Linked DNA regions of Homo sapiens: all the other regions are linked to region 1. Evidence: promoter capture Hi-C in human tissues and cell types (Jung and others, 2019). All regions are on one chromosome and are shown on one strand. The core of a region is centred on a gene start or on the middle of the fragment in contact, and the rest is flanking DNA. Distances in the headings are between cores, read along the strand shown. Region 1 holds the start of FAM110D (family with sequence similarity 110 member D). Region 2 overlaps UBXN11 (UBX domain protein 11). Region 3 overlaps CEP85 (centrosomal protein 85).

Region 1 (4,304 bases), core at 1,034-3,533:
AGCTGTGAAGGGGCCCCTACCGGTCCTACCACCCAACCTGGATGCTCCTTTAAGACCAAAGGGATGGGGGTTGCAGAGTCAGACACAACAGCCCCATCCTCCCCCCAGGCGGCGGGCCAGGTTTCCTGCCATTGACAGCATCCCAGCTGGCCCTGCCCACCTCCCATGCTTAACCCCTTCCTGACCAGATCTCAGAGCCAAGCTGGCACCCTCAGCCTTCACCTAGAAAGTTAGGAGAATGAAAGTGACTTTTTTTGTTTTTCTTTTTTGCAGCTTTGTCACCCAGGCTGGAGTGCAGTGGTGTGATCTTGGCTCACTGCAACCTCCGCCTCCTGGGTTCAAGTGATTCTCCTGCCCCAGCCTCCCTAGTAGCTGAGATTACAGGAGCGCACCACCACGCCCAGCTAATTTTTGTATTTTTAGTAGAGACAGGGTTTCGCCGTGTTGGCCAGGCTGGTCTCCAGCTCCTGGCCTCAAGTGATCGGCCCGCCTTCACCTCCCAAAGTGCTGGGATTACAGGTGTGAGCCACCTCGCCCGGCCCGAAAGTGCCATTTCATCGGGTTGTTTTGAGGATTAAATATGTTAATCCTTATGTGAGGTACTTAGAATAGCCCCTAACATATATTAATCTCTCAATAAAAGTTAGCTATTGGCCGGGAGAGGTGGCTCACACCTGTAATCCCAGCACTTTGGGAGGCCGAGGCCGGCAGATCGCAAGGTCAGAAGTTCAAGATCAGCCTGAGCAACATGGTAAAACCCTGTCTCTACTAAAAACACAAAATTAGCCAGGCACTTGCCTGTTATCCCAGCTACTCGGGAGGCTGAGGCAGGATAATCGCTTGAACCCAGGAGGCGGAGGTTGCAGTGAGCCAAGATCACGTCACGGCACTCCAGCCTGGGTGACAGAGTTTGGTGAGCTTGGATAAGTCATTTCTCCTCTCTGAGCCTCAGTCTCTTCAGCCGTAAGTGTGAAAAATAATAAAACCTCCCCCAAAGATTGTCATGGGGATTATGACAAAGCAGCTAATGGCATTTTGAAAAGTGCTGTAGCAACAAAATATGGAACTATCACCAACAAAATCCCCCCTTTAGGTAATAAAAACCTTTTACCGGGAGATGGGCCTTGGGTTTTCAGACCCACTACTGACTTGACAGGCAGAGGATGCAGTTCCAAATGTGGATTTGGAGCTGGGCTTTGGGCATCTCTCTCCCCCCTCAGCTCCTGTTTCCTTACTCATTAAGTGGGGGGTCATTCCTGCTGGACGCCTGTCTAGGGTCCTTGTTTGGGGGCGGTCAAAGGAGATCAGAGAGCACAGACGGGAATGTGCTTTGCAAACATGAAAGAGGGCTAGAAAGGAGGAGGAGGGACTTGGGGAAGGTGGCCAGCCAAGGGGGGAAAGGAACCTTTGGCCTGAGCACTGGTCTTAGTCTGGGCTGGAGAGTTTAGTTTGCCTGCTGGGGAGAGGGGAGGTGTCTCCTATGAGGTAGGGTTTCACCTTGAGACATAAGGTGTCAGAGAAGAAACTCTGATGGAAGAAGCTCTAAGAGGCTCCAAGTGTGGGCAGAGAAGGAAGCGGGCCAAAGGACCTGGGCTTGGCCCTGGAATCAGCCCCTCATCACTGTCTTCCCAGGCAATCCCATCTGCCATGAAAGGACCTTGGCAGAGGCAGCTCCAGTGGGCTCCAGGGTCACCTTCATGACAAGACTTGCCGCCACAGGCTCACCTGCACATCTATAGCACCAATGCCCCCACCCTTAGGCTGCAGATTCCTGGTCTCGCCCCCAGGGAAAGCAGGCTTGACACCACCCAGCACCCAGACCAAGACAGGTCTCAGCCTGCTACAGAGGGAAAAAAGCAAGTTGACTAGAACCCTGTTCTGCCTTCCCATTCAGACTGTCAGAGCATCTGCCACAGCCCAGGGAGGGGGCTGATCCCACATACGGAGCCCCCACCCCAGGCCTTTGGAGGAAGCCTGGGGATCAGGAGGCCTTGTTTGGAGTCCTGGCTCTGCCCAAGCTCACAGTGCTTCCACAGCCAATCACCTAACCGGGCTGGGACTGTTTGACCATCTGTAAAATAAAAGGAGCTGGACTTGGTTCACAGGTCTCCACAGCGCAGGACTGTGATCAGGAAAGAGTTAATGGAGGCCAGGATCTGCCTCAGGAAGGCGAGGGTTAATTTGGGGGGCGGGGGGTGGAGGCTTTCTCTGCTTTTCCTGTGGAGAGTGAGGTTTGGCTGCCACCAAAGTTACTTCTAGTCCTTGCTGTCCACTCCTGCCCTCAGTCTGGACCTGCCCAAGGACCCCTGCAATTAGGCCTCCCATGCAGAGGTGAGTGTACCCTGAGCCCAGGGCTGGGGTAAGAAGGAACCCAGGGGCCTGAGGGCAGGGAGACTGGTGCCAAACTAGTGAGCCTAAAAGATGGCCCATGCCCAGAGCAGAAGCCTTGGGCAGAGTTGAGACCACAAGTTTCAGGACTGGGAGAAGGCAGGCAAAGGAATGGAGGGCCCGAGGCTGCCTGCCAGGCTTCTAGGGCGGGATGTCTGAGGTCCGGCCTCCAGGCTAGCCCAGAAGGCAGGGAAGAGGCTGTGGATGACAGACTATTTTGGTCCTTGTGATTAGGAACTTTTTATAGTCTCCCTGCTCAGGGCTGGGGAGAAGAGGAGAGGACAGAGGGCACCCATGGGGTCAGACAAGCAGTGCCTTCCTGGGACCTTGGAATCTGACCCACTGCCAAGGAGACTCCCTGGGAGACAGGGAGGGGGACACTGCCAGACTCTCCTTGGTTCCCAGGCCTCAACTACCTATGAGCAGACTGACTACACACTAGATGCTGGGTGCAGGGGTGGGCTGGACCTGGCAGGGTCTCTGCCCCAAGGCCTCTCACAGACTCCTTCCCCACTTCCCTGGCTAATTCTGTTCCTTTGTTGTCCCCAGATCCAAGGTCCCTCAGCCTCCAGGACTCAGGGGGAGTAGGGGAAGATAGGGGTGGGGTCGGGTGTGCAGGGCCATGTGGGTGGCCCATTCTGTTACTGCCAAGAGAACTGTCAGCTCTTGATTTACAACCCCTCCTCGCTCCTTGCCCCAGCAGAAGGGAGGTGGAAAAGGGTCATGAGGTCTTAGGATAAAAAAGGGACAAGGACCCTGGGGGCAAATTTCTGGGAGTGGGAGCGCAGGTTATTAGGAAGAATTAGTGGAAGGAACTTTTTAGTGAGGCAAGGGGCCCATTTCTAACGGAAATTGCTTGGTTTTATAGCAGCGGGAATACACGCAAAATATCAGTGAGTTCTTTTTTTTTTTCTTTTTTTTTTTTTGAGACGGAGTCTCGCTCTGTTGCCCAGGCTGGAGTGCAGTGGTGCGCGATCTCGGCTCACTGCAACCTCCGCCTCCCAGCTTCAAGCGATTCTCCTGCCTCAGCTTCCCAAGTAGCTGGGATTACAGGTGTGCGCCACCCCGCCTGGCTAATTTTTGTATTTTCAGTAGAGATGGGGTTTTGCCATGTTGGCCAGGCTGGTCTGGAACTCCTCACCTAAGGTAATTCACCCACCTCGGCCTCCCAAAGTGCTGGGATTACAGGCATGAGCCATCGCGCCTGGCCTCAGTGGGAAGTTCTGATAGGCAAGTGAGAGATCCAATCTGAACTGCAAGGCAAGAAACCTGGGTGACAAAGCAAGACTCCGTCTAAAGAAAAAAAAAAAAGAAACCTGGGTTCCAGTCCTGGCTCCTAACTCTCAATAGGACCTGAGCAAGCCCCCCTCCTCTCCAAGCCAGTTTCCTCTTCATGAAATGGAAATGCAAAGGTTAAACAAGGTGATGTTTACAGTTTGGCATTCTGCGATCCCCTTGGCAGGGGCAGAGTAGCTGGCAGTAGCTGATAGGGCCTGGGGACCACCTCCCTCTCCTGCCCCGATGGCCCTGCTGGGCCTGGGCAGGGCAGTTGGCTGCAATTACTGGAGGCTCCTACCCTGTGGTTATATCCCCGACCTCGGTGTTTGGGGGCGGGAAGGGTGGGCCCTGCTGGAGCCAGCCTGTGGCTGGGAGCCTTCTTGTCTTGGGCTCAAAGCTGCTGGGTTGGGAAGAGGTATTTTTTCCGGTTGAAGCCACTTTCAGGAATTGGGCCGGGACCAGCCCTGTTTCCTTTTCCAAGTGTCCTGCTTGCTAAGGCCTGCTTGCACGACCCTGTGGCCAGATTGGGGCACCTTCAAAGGGGAATATGTTTCTGAGTGGCCAGAGAGACCCCACTCAATGTCTCTGAAGGACAGGGAAAGGGGATGGCCTGAGCCTCTGCTCCCTGGATGTGGCAC
Region 2 (4,304 bases), core at 1,671-4,170, 120 kb after region 1:
GGCTGGGGGACGGGGGGGTGGGGGGAGTGTTGGAAGAGGACTCTAGCCAGGGTCATATCTGCCACAAAGCACTTGGGCCCCCTGCATTCAGGTGACCACCCCTCGCCTCCCCTTCTCCAGGACTATGAGCTCTTCGTGGAGGCTGTGGAACAAAACACGCTGCAGGAGTTCCTGAAGCTGGCTTGAGTCAAGCCTGTCCAGAGTTCCCCTGCTGGACTCCATCACCACACTCCCCCCAGCCTTCACCTGGCCATGAAGGACCTTTTGACCAACTCCCTGTCATTCCTAACCTAACCTTAGAGTCCCTCCCCCAATGCAGGCCACTTCTCCTCCCTCCTCTCTAAATGTAGTCCCCTCTCCTCCATCTAAAGGCAACATTCCTTACCCATTAGTCTCAGAAATTGTCTTAAGCAACAGCCCCAAATGCTGGCTGCCCCCAGCCAAGCATTGGGGCCGCCATCCTGCCTGGCACTGGCTGATGGGCACCTCTGTTGGTTCCATCAGCCAGAGCTCTGCCAAAGGCCCCGCAGTCCCTCTCCCAGGAGGACCCTAGAGGCAATTAAATGATGTCCTGTTCCATTGGCACTGTGTCTGGTTGGTTGTGGCCTGGGCCTCCTGGGTCCCTGCCCTGGGCAAGGTTGGTAGTTGTGACTGTGCTGAGACTGCTCTGTGGGAAGGGTGGCTGAGCTGTTCTCTTGTGACTGTCACCTCTGTGTTTGTTAGTGCATGTGTTTGGATATGTCTGACACACAAATACCTGTATGGACCAGTGGTTTCTGGAGATGTCTGGGTGGGCCACCCTCCAGTTCACATGCATGTGTCCATATCATGCTTGTGCCTTGGTGTGTAGTGCACATCTCCATGCCTGTCAGTGAGTGTGGCCATCCCATGCGCCTGTGTTGGAGCACAATGGCTAAGAATGAGTGTATCATGGGAGGTGGGTACCCAGCTGCAGTTCTGCTAATTTGGGGGCATGGGTCTAGTGGCAAAATGGCTTTGTGCGGTGTTGAAGTGTCCCCACGAGTTGGTGGGTCTGTGCCTGTGCACAGGTATCTGCTGGCTGCACACATACACAGTGAGGCTCTGCTGTCCCAGCTGAGAATGTAAACCCAGCTGGGGCCAGCTCCTTCCCCCCACTGCATCCCTCCCTTCACAGGATCCACTTAGCCCTTCTTGGGAGAAAGAGGAACCTAGAAGACAAAGACCCAGCAGCCAGGCCCGCCAGCCGGGGCTCGAGTTACCAAGGGGCGGGTCGGCACCGCCCCCTCCCTGGCCCAGCTGGTCCCAGGCCTTTCCTACGTGCCTGGCGAGATGGCCCACCCAAGAGCCTGGCGGAGCAGCGGGTTGAGGGGGCGGGTGCTTTATTGGGGGCTGGGACTGGGTCCAGGACAGGGACTGGGGCCGGGACCGGGACCGGGACTGGGGCCGGGACCGGGACCGGGACTGGGGCCGGGACCGGGACCGGGACAGGGACCAGGACTGAATTTCAGGCTGGACTTCGGGGCTCGGCGTGCCCGCAGCAGCAGTGCTGCTTTGGGCACAAGGCCTGCAGCCTGCAGCGTGAGTGTATCGTCCTGGTAGAGGGTGGGCGGGAATGTGCTGAAGATCTCAAAGGCAGAGGCATCCATGACCCTGGGGACCAGGCAGAGCAGATCAGGCTGGGCAGTGGGACCAGAGCCCCTCTGTGGCCCTGGCCCTGCCCTGCACCCACCTGGCCTGCGCTAGCAGAGCTCGCACGTCCCCAATGGTGTTGTCAGGCTGCATCATCAGTAGGAAGGCCTGTTCCCCATTCTCAGACTTGATGCGCAGCATGGAGAGCGGGGGTGCCGGCGTGTTGGGTGACTCCTGGCTCCTGCACAGCCCAGAGGCCATCAGCACGCGGTGACCCAACGCCCCCAGGCCCTCACCTCCTCATCCCGCCCTCACCTCTCTCGCTCAGCGGCCAAGGTGGGCGTCTCCACCACAATCTCCTGGATCCGGGCAGGCAATGGGCAGCAGTTCTGGAAGGTATCAGTGGAGGGTGGACAGAGCCCTAGGCCCCATTTGAGTCATCCCCACAAACCTTAGAGGGACACTTCCTTGACCAGGGACAGATGAGACCAGTGAGCAAAGCGGGAGGGGGTGTTCTGTATAAACCAAGGCCAGAGGAGAGGCAATGGAAGGGGAAGAAGGTTCTGGGAGGCAGCCCCATGGTTCCCCCCAGGTAACCCCCCGTTTCAGTCTAATGGAGACAGAACCCCACACAGACGATGATCAGGCTGGAAGCCCACCCCAGCCTGGGGTCAGGGAAGGCTTCCCTCGGAAAATGACAACTGAGCTGTGACTGAAGGATGAATGGGAGTCCTTAGAAATGGAATGGATGCAGGGATATTCCAGACAGCATCAACAAAGATCCTGGGTTCAGGGAAAGCTTCCTAGAGGTGGCGACACATTTGGGCAACTGCCAGCATTATGTGTGGCTGAAGCTGGGGCTCAATTGGACTGGAAGGAAAAGGTTGGTGTGAGGAGGGGCCTGGCAATATAGGACGGGCCTTGAGTGCCAGCATAAGGAACCTGGCTTTATCTCAAGAACCACTGGAACATTTCAACAGGGAAGGCAGCCTGGAGGATGGTCAGCAGGGGCAGGAGTGGCAGTGGGAGGCAGCTGTCTGGGAGAGACACTCTGAACCCTAGACTAGGGTGGTGGGTGGTGGGAATGTGGAGAAGGGATGCATCTGGGAGAAGTTCTGGGGGTGGACAGACCAGACAGGACTTAGCAATGTGTGGGTGAGGGAGGCAGAGGAGGCCTGAGAAACTAAGGTTTGGTGCCTTTCACAGGTGGACACCTAGGAGGAGAAGCAGAATAGGGAGCGAGGAGACAGAATGATGAGGGCCAAGGAGAGTCTGAGGCAACCACGAAGGGAGTACCCAGTACTGAGTTGGATATTTTGGCCTAGACCTTGATGGGGTGGCCTGGGCCTTGGGCTCACCCCTGGCCTGGACTCTGACTTTAGCCCTCTTACAGCTAACCCACCTGCTTTCCGGGGCCCAGCCCGTGCCCTCACCAGCCTCACAGTTTCCAGGAGACAGTGGAGCAACAGCTCTGAGGGACTCATCAGGTGCCTCAAGCTTGAGCCTTCTGACAAGACACTGTTCTGGCAGGCTGGACCAGGGCTGGTGCTAAAGTTCCCCCAGGAGGGCTGGGGGAGTTAGCATTGGCCTCACCTGCAAGGTGTCCCTGATGGGGCCCCGGATGTCAATCACCTCGCCTTGCCGGATCACAAACTTGGGGAGCCTGTTCAGAAATTTCTCAGCAGTCATCCTGGAGCCTACAGGCAGAGTTGGGAACCGGGGCCCAGGAAGGACTATGAGTGGTGGTGGAGCCCCCCTGGAGTTTGTTCTGCAGTCCCCCAGCCCCCTGGCTCAGCCTGGAGGCCAAACTCACCTGGGTGCTCCTCCACCCTGTCCAAGGCCTTGTGCATCAGCTGCCTGCCCACCACACGGCCCTCGCCTGGGAAGGGGTCCAGTCCATCCTCCAGGTAGACCTGATTGCGCAAGTCACTCACCTGGCAAGAAAGAAGGGCAACGACGGCAGCGGACCCAGCTCTTCAGCCCTTGGCCCCACTTTCATCCCTATTTGCCTAAACACAGGCCAAGGGTATGGTCTAATGCAACCCCCATTTTACATATGAGGAAACCCAGGCCTCAGGAGAGCCACGGTTCGTACTGCTGTCATCTCCCTCAGCCCTGCTGCTCCTGTAAGCACCCCATCCACGCCAGCTGAAGCTGCAGTACTGACACCCTCCTTGGAGACCCCCCTCTCAGGAGCCTACCGTGAAGGCAGAGTGTGAGGGGGTCAGGAGAGGACAAAGCCCCTGCTTTTTTCCAGTCTGCAGCACAAACCGCATCATCGTACATGTAACCTCACTTGCCTTATCAAGGCATAGCTCCGAGGTCCCCGCTGTGGCACGAATGCCTTAAACACCCCCGCGTCATGACTCATGCTGTTTCCTGAGCCCTGGTGACACATGCTCCCTCCCGGACACGCCCTCAGTGCGGCACTAACCCACCACCTTCTAGAACACGAAGCCTCATGGGCTCTGGTGGTGGCACCTACCCATGGGGCCAGCTCTACCTCATGTCTTTGAGTCCCAACATCTGTCCCCTCTGCTTTGCATTTGTGGCTCACAGCACTGCCTCCCACCCTACCCAGATAGCTTCAGGAGACTTGGGGGACAGCCGGGCCACTTCTGCAGGGACCCCAGGTTGTCAAGGTGTCCTGAAAGCTGGGGAGGACTAGAAGGCAGGGGCCCCGCAGCCGAGGC
Region 3 (4,304 bases), core at 493-2,992, 95 kb after region 1:
CAAGACCAGCCTGACCAGCATGGAGAAGCCCTGTCTCTACTAAAAATACAAAATTAGCCGGGCGTGGTGGAGCATGCCTTTAATCCCAGCTACTTGGGAGGCTGAGGCAGGAGAATCGCTTGAACCCAGGAGGAGGAGGTTGTGGTGAGCCAAGATCGCGCCATTGCACTCCAGCCTGGGCAACAAGAGTGAAATTCCGGCTCCAAAAAATAAAACAAAAAATTGTATTGCTTACTAGTCTTTGAAGTCTTTATCACTAGCAGTCTGCCTTAACCTTGTGTACTAGTCCTATATTTAAGTTGTGAGACATCAGAAACTGGGTCCTTTAACTGAGAAATTTCTTTCTTGGTCCTGAGAGACTAATGCATGTTATCAGAACTTATTCAGGTTTTTGTTTTGTTACGTGTGTGTGTGTTTTTTTAGTGTGGCCTTTTATATATCCCCAAGATCATCTTCAGTATAGCAAATTAGATACTATGCATGTAATATAAGGCTTGCACGTCTTTTTTTAAAGTATTTATTCCTCCTGTCTAACCGAAATGTTTTACCCTTTGATCAGCATCTCTCGATTCCCCCTGCTCCCAGCTTCTGGTAACCACAATTATTCTCTCTGTTTCTATGTGTCGAGGTTTTTTTTAGCTTCCACATATAAGTAAGAACGTGCAGTATTTGTCATTTTGTGCCTGGCTTATTTCTCTTAGTGTCCTCCAGTTTCATCCATGTTGTTGCAAGTGACACAATTGACATCTTTTATAAGGCTGGTATTCCGTTGTGTAATATACTGCATTTTCCTTATCTGTTCGTCTGTTGATTCTATAACTTGGCTATTGTGAATAATTACTCAGTAAACATGGGATTGTAGATATCTCTTGGACATACATATTTCATATCGTTTGGATATATACCCAGAAGTGGATTGCTGGATCATATGGTAACTATTTTTAGTTTTTTGAGGAGCTACATACTCCATTGTTTTCCACAGTGGCTGTGTTACATTCCCCCCAACTGTGTACTAGAGTTCCCTTTTCTCTGCATCCTCTCCAAACTTGTTATCTTTCATCTTTTTTTTTTTTTTTTTGAGATGGAGTCTCACTCTGTCGCCCAGGCTGGAGTGCAGTAGTGCGATCCTGGCTCATTGCAACCTCCACCTCCTGGGTTCAAGCGATCCTCCTGCCTCAGCCTCCCGAATAGCTGGGACTACAGGCGCGTGCCACCATACCTGGCTAATATTTTGTATTTTTAGTAGAGACAGGGTTTCACCGTGTTAGCCAGGATGGTTTCGATCTCCTGACCTCATGATCCCCCCTCCTCAGCCTCCCAAAGTGCTGGGGATTACAGGCATGAGCCACTGCGCCCGGCCTCATCTTTTTCATCATAGCCATTCTGACAGGTGTGAGGTGGCTTGCCCATATTTTTAAAGAGTTGCTTAAGGCCGGGCATGGTGGCTCACACCTGTAATCCTAGCACTTTGGGAGGCTGAGGCAGGTGGATCACTTGAGCCCATGAGTTCGAGACCAGTCTGGGCAACATGGCGAAACCCCATCTCTCCTAAAAATACAAAAACTGAGGTGGGAAGATCACCTGAGCCTGGGGAGGTCGAGGCTGCAGTGAACTGTGATCACGCCACTGTGCTCCAGCCTGGGTGACAGAGTGAGACCCCATTTCAAAAAAAAAAGTTGTTTAATGAGAAGGTCGTAGCTGATCTATACTTACATAATTCTGGGAACAATTATAGTATTTGTTGTTGTTATCTGAGTGTTCTCTGTGTTGGTTGCTGGGGAGAAAAAGAAACAAGTTGGTAGTCGCTCTTCTCCGTGGTAGATATGCTTGATTTGGGAACGAGTACTGAATATAGTTGAAAAGAGAAGAAATTGGTATTCCTTATTTCCTTATTCAGTTTTCTGCCTGCTGAAAGCAATAAGTATGTTACCTCACATTCCTCCCTTATTGTTTGCTTGCAGTAGTCCCCCTCAGAGTAGTACTTGAAAGTTGGAAATAGGTAGAAATGTGAACCTTGTATAGTAGGGCTAATCAAGGGTTGTCTCCCAAGACCAGGCAGGAGCCAAAGGAAACACAAATTCAGTCTGAAGGAAAAGTTAAAAAAAAAAAAACACAGTTGGGTACACACAAGGGGGCAAGTGAAAGGCAAAATATAAAATAGAGGATTTCAGTGTGTACCCAATTGAGAGTGCTCACTGTGCTAGAGTGAAACCTGAGAGTTACTAAGAATAACTTCACATATCCAGGCAGTCAGGTTTGGGGTATGGGAGAGAGAACAGAATCCTGCCTCAGATGCCATACTCCCTGTCCTGCATACTGAGCAAGACTGTCTAGTTCGCTTCATTCTTCAGATAGTTTGGACTCGTTGCTCACCTTCCTGGGGGAGCTTTTGGAGGTCGCAGAAGATTCTGGTGACTCTTGGAAAGGATATTTTTATTAGATTTGATTATAGCTGAGAGTTGTCCAGCTTCCAGAAGAGTAGGACCTAACTCATTTTCCTTAAGTAAGTAATTTGTTTTAAAGTTTAAATTTTTTAAAAAACTTTTTAAAAGTTTTTCAGCTTTGTCTGTTGACTGACAAGATTTTTTTTATTCCAGTACAAAGGACTAAGTTAAAAGTGAAGTCATTATTGCCTTTTGTTAGTTTACCTTGTGAATGGCATTTGAGATCCTGGAACATACATCTCCCAGTTTGGTTGCCGTTTCTTTCTGCCTGATACTTTTGATGATGGTGCTCTCTCTGCTTGGTCTCAGGACAGGCCGAGAGCTTCTGGCATAGCATTCAAACTCAAGAAAGCTTGCTACTTCAATTTTTACTTATGGAAGACTATTCTCTCCCCAGATTTTTGCAGCTCAAGTGGCAGTCCTCCTTTCCAGCCCATCAAAAGCCACGTAACCATTCCAACAGCCCATGTGATGCCTTCTACTTTAGGGACCTCTCCTGCCAAGCCAAATTCTACACCTGTTGGACCCTCTTCCTCTAAACTCCCTTTGTCAGGGTTGGCTGAAAGTGTGGGAATGACAAGAAATGGAGACCTCGGTGCAATGAAACATTCTCCAGGCCTATCTAGAGATCTCATGTATTTCTCTGGTGCTACTGGAGAAAATGGAATTGAGCAGTCCTGGTTTCCAGCAGTGGGCCATGAAAGACAAGAAGAGGCGAGGAAGTTTGATATTCCTAGCATGGAATCTACCCTCAATCAGTCGGCAATGATGGAGACACTTTATTCAGATCCTCACCACCGAGTCCGCTTCCACAACCCAAGAACCAGCACAAGTAAGGAGTTGTACAGAGTGTTGCCTGAGGCCAAGAAGGCACCGGGCAGCGGGGCAGTGTTTGAGCGGAATGGACCACATTCTAATAGCAGTGGGGTCCTCCCTTTGGGACTCCAGCCTGCTCCCGGGCTCTCCAAGCCTCTGCCCTCTCAGGTGTGGCAGCCGAGTCCTGACACTTGGCATCCCCGAGAGCAATCTTGTGAACTCAGCACTTGTCGGCAGCAGCTGGAATTGATTCGTTTACAGATGGAGCAAATGCAGGTAGAGGTCTATCTTTCCTTGGATTTTCTAGGTTCTGTACAGTTCTTAGAATTGTAATAGCTTTTGTCCTTTGAATTTTGGCTTAAAGAAAATAGCTGTAAAAAGAAGGAAGATGTTTGTAGACAGGAAATACAGGCTTGTGAGCTGTTGGCCATTGAATCTGTTTGGTAGTCAAATTAAGCACCAGATAGGGTCTCCAAAATAGCAAAAGGTTACAAAGGAAAACCTAAAAACGTATTTATACGTCACTAGGCTAAGTACTTTCACATACAGCATTTTATTTAATCTTCATAGTGTACTAACGAGGTAGATGTAGAAACTTACCAGGTTCTTAGACTACATAATCTGTACGGGGTCATAGAGTTGGTAATTGGCAGAGCTGGGGTTTAAAAACCATCTTTGAGGCCAGGTGGCTCACGCCTATAATCCCAGCATTTTGGGAGGCCGAGGCGGGCAGGAGTTCGAGACCAGCCTGGCCAGCAGAGTGAAACCCTGCCTCTACTAAAAATATAAAAATTAGCCAGGTGTGGTGGCATGCGCCTGTAGTCCCAACTACTCAGGAGGCTGTGGCAGGAGAATTGCTTGAACCTGGGAGGCGGAGGTTGCAGTGAGCCGAGACTGCGCCATTGCACTCCAGTCTGGATGACAGAGCGAGGCTCTGTCTCAAAAAATAAATAAATAAATGTGAAAACCTTCTTTGAGCCCCTGTGTTCTCTCTACCACTTTTGTATTTTCTTTTTTTTTTTTTTTTGAGATGGAGTCTTGCTC

What was found. The method cuts DNA at HindIII sites, captures the fragments that hold promoters and counts their contacts. A contact is called where the count stands out against the background at its distance.
Region 2: a fragment that was not itself captured here is called in contact with the fragment with the promoter of FAM110D in region 1 in 2 of the 25 tissues and cell types used here (adrenal gland and thymus).
Region 3: a fragment that was not itself captured here is called in contact with the fragment with the promoter of FAM110D in region 1 in 5 of the 25 tissues and cell types used here (IMR-90 fibroblasts, dorsolateral prefrontal cortex, lymphoblastoid cells and 2 more).

The regions. Positions count from the first base shown.
Region 1 is chr1:26,156,796-26,161,099 of GRCh38, forward strand. FAM110D (family with sequence similarity 110 member D) reads left to right here and starts at 2,284. Exons shown (of 2, transcript NM_024869.3): 1 at 2,284-2,331. RefSeq lists an enhancer at 1-558. The HindIII fragment of the contact is 16,538 bases long and covers 1-4,304 here.
Region 2 is chr1:26,280,938-26,285,241 of GRCh38, forward strand. It overlaps UBXN11 (UBX domain protein 11), which reads right to left. Exons shown (of 15, transcript NM_001389556.1): 11 at 3,425-3,545; 12 at 3,205-3,308; 13 at 1,927-2,000; 14 at 1,712-1,852; 15 at 1,345-1,632. The coding sequence ends at 1,362. SH3BGRL3 (SH3 domain binding glutamate rich protein like 3) reads left to right here. Exons shown (of 3, transcript NM_031286.4): 3 at 121-585. The coding sequence ends at 186. Among named protein-coding and RNA genes, the nearest start is that of SH3BGRL3, 3.0 kb to the left of the region's middle. RefSeq lists enhancers at 1-444, 2,940-3,530, 3,656-3,745. The HindIII fragment of the contact is 4,676 bases long and covers 583-4,304 here.
Region 3 is chr1:26,252,330-26,256,633 of GRCh38, forward strand. It overlaps CEP85 (centrosomal protein 85), which reads left to right. Exons shown (of 14, transcript NM_001319944.2): 4 at 2,842-3,536. Among named protein-coding and RNA genes, the nearest start is that of CEP85, 20 kb to the left of the region's middle. The HindIII fragment of the contact is 5,989 bases long and covers 1-4,304 here.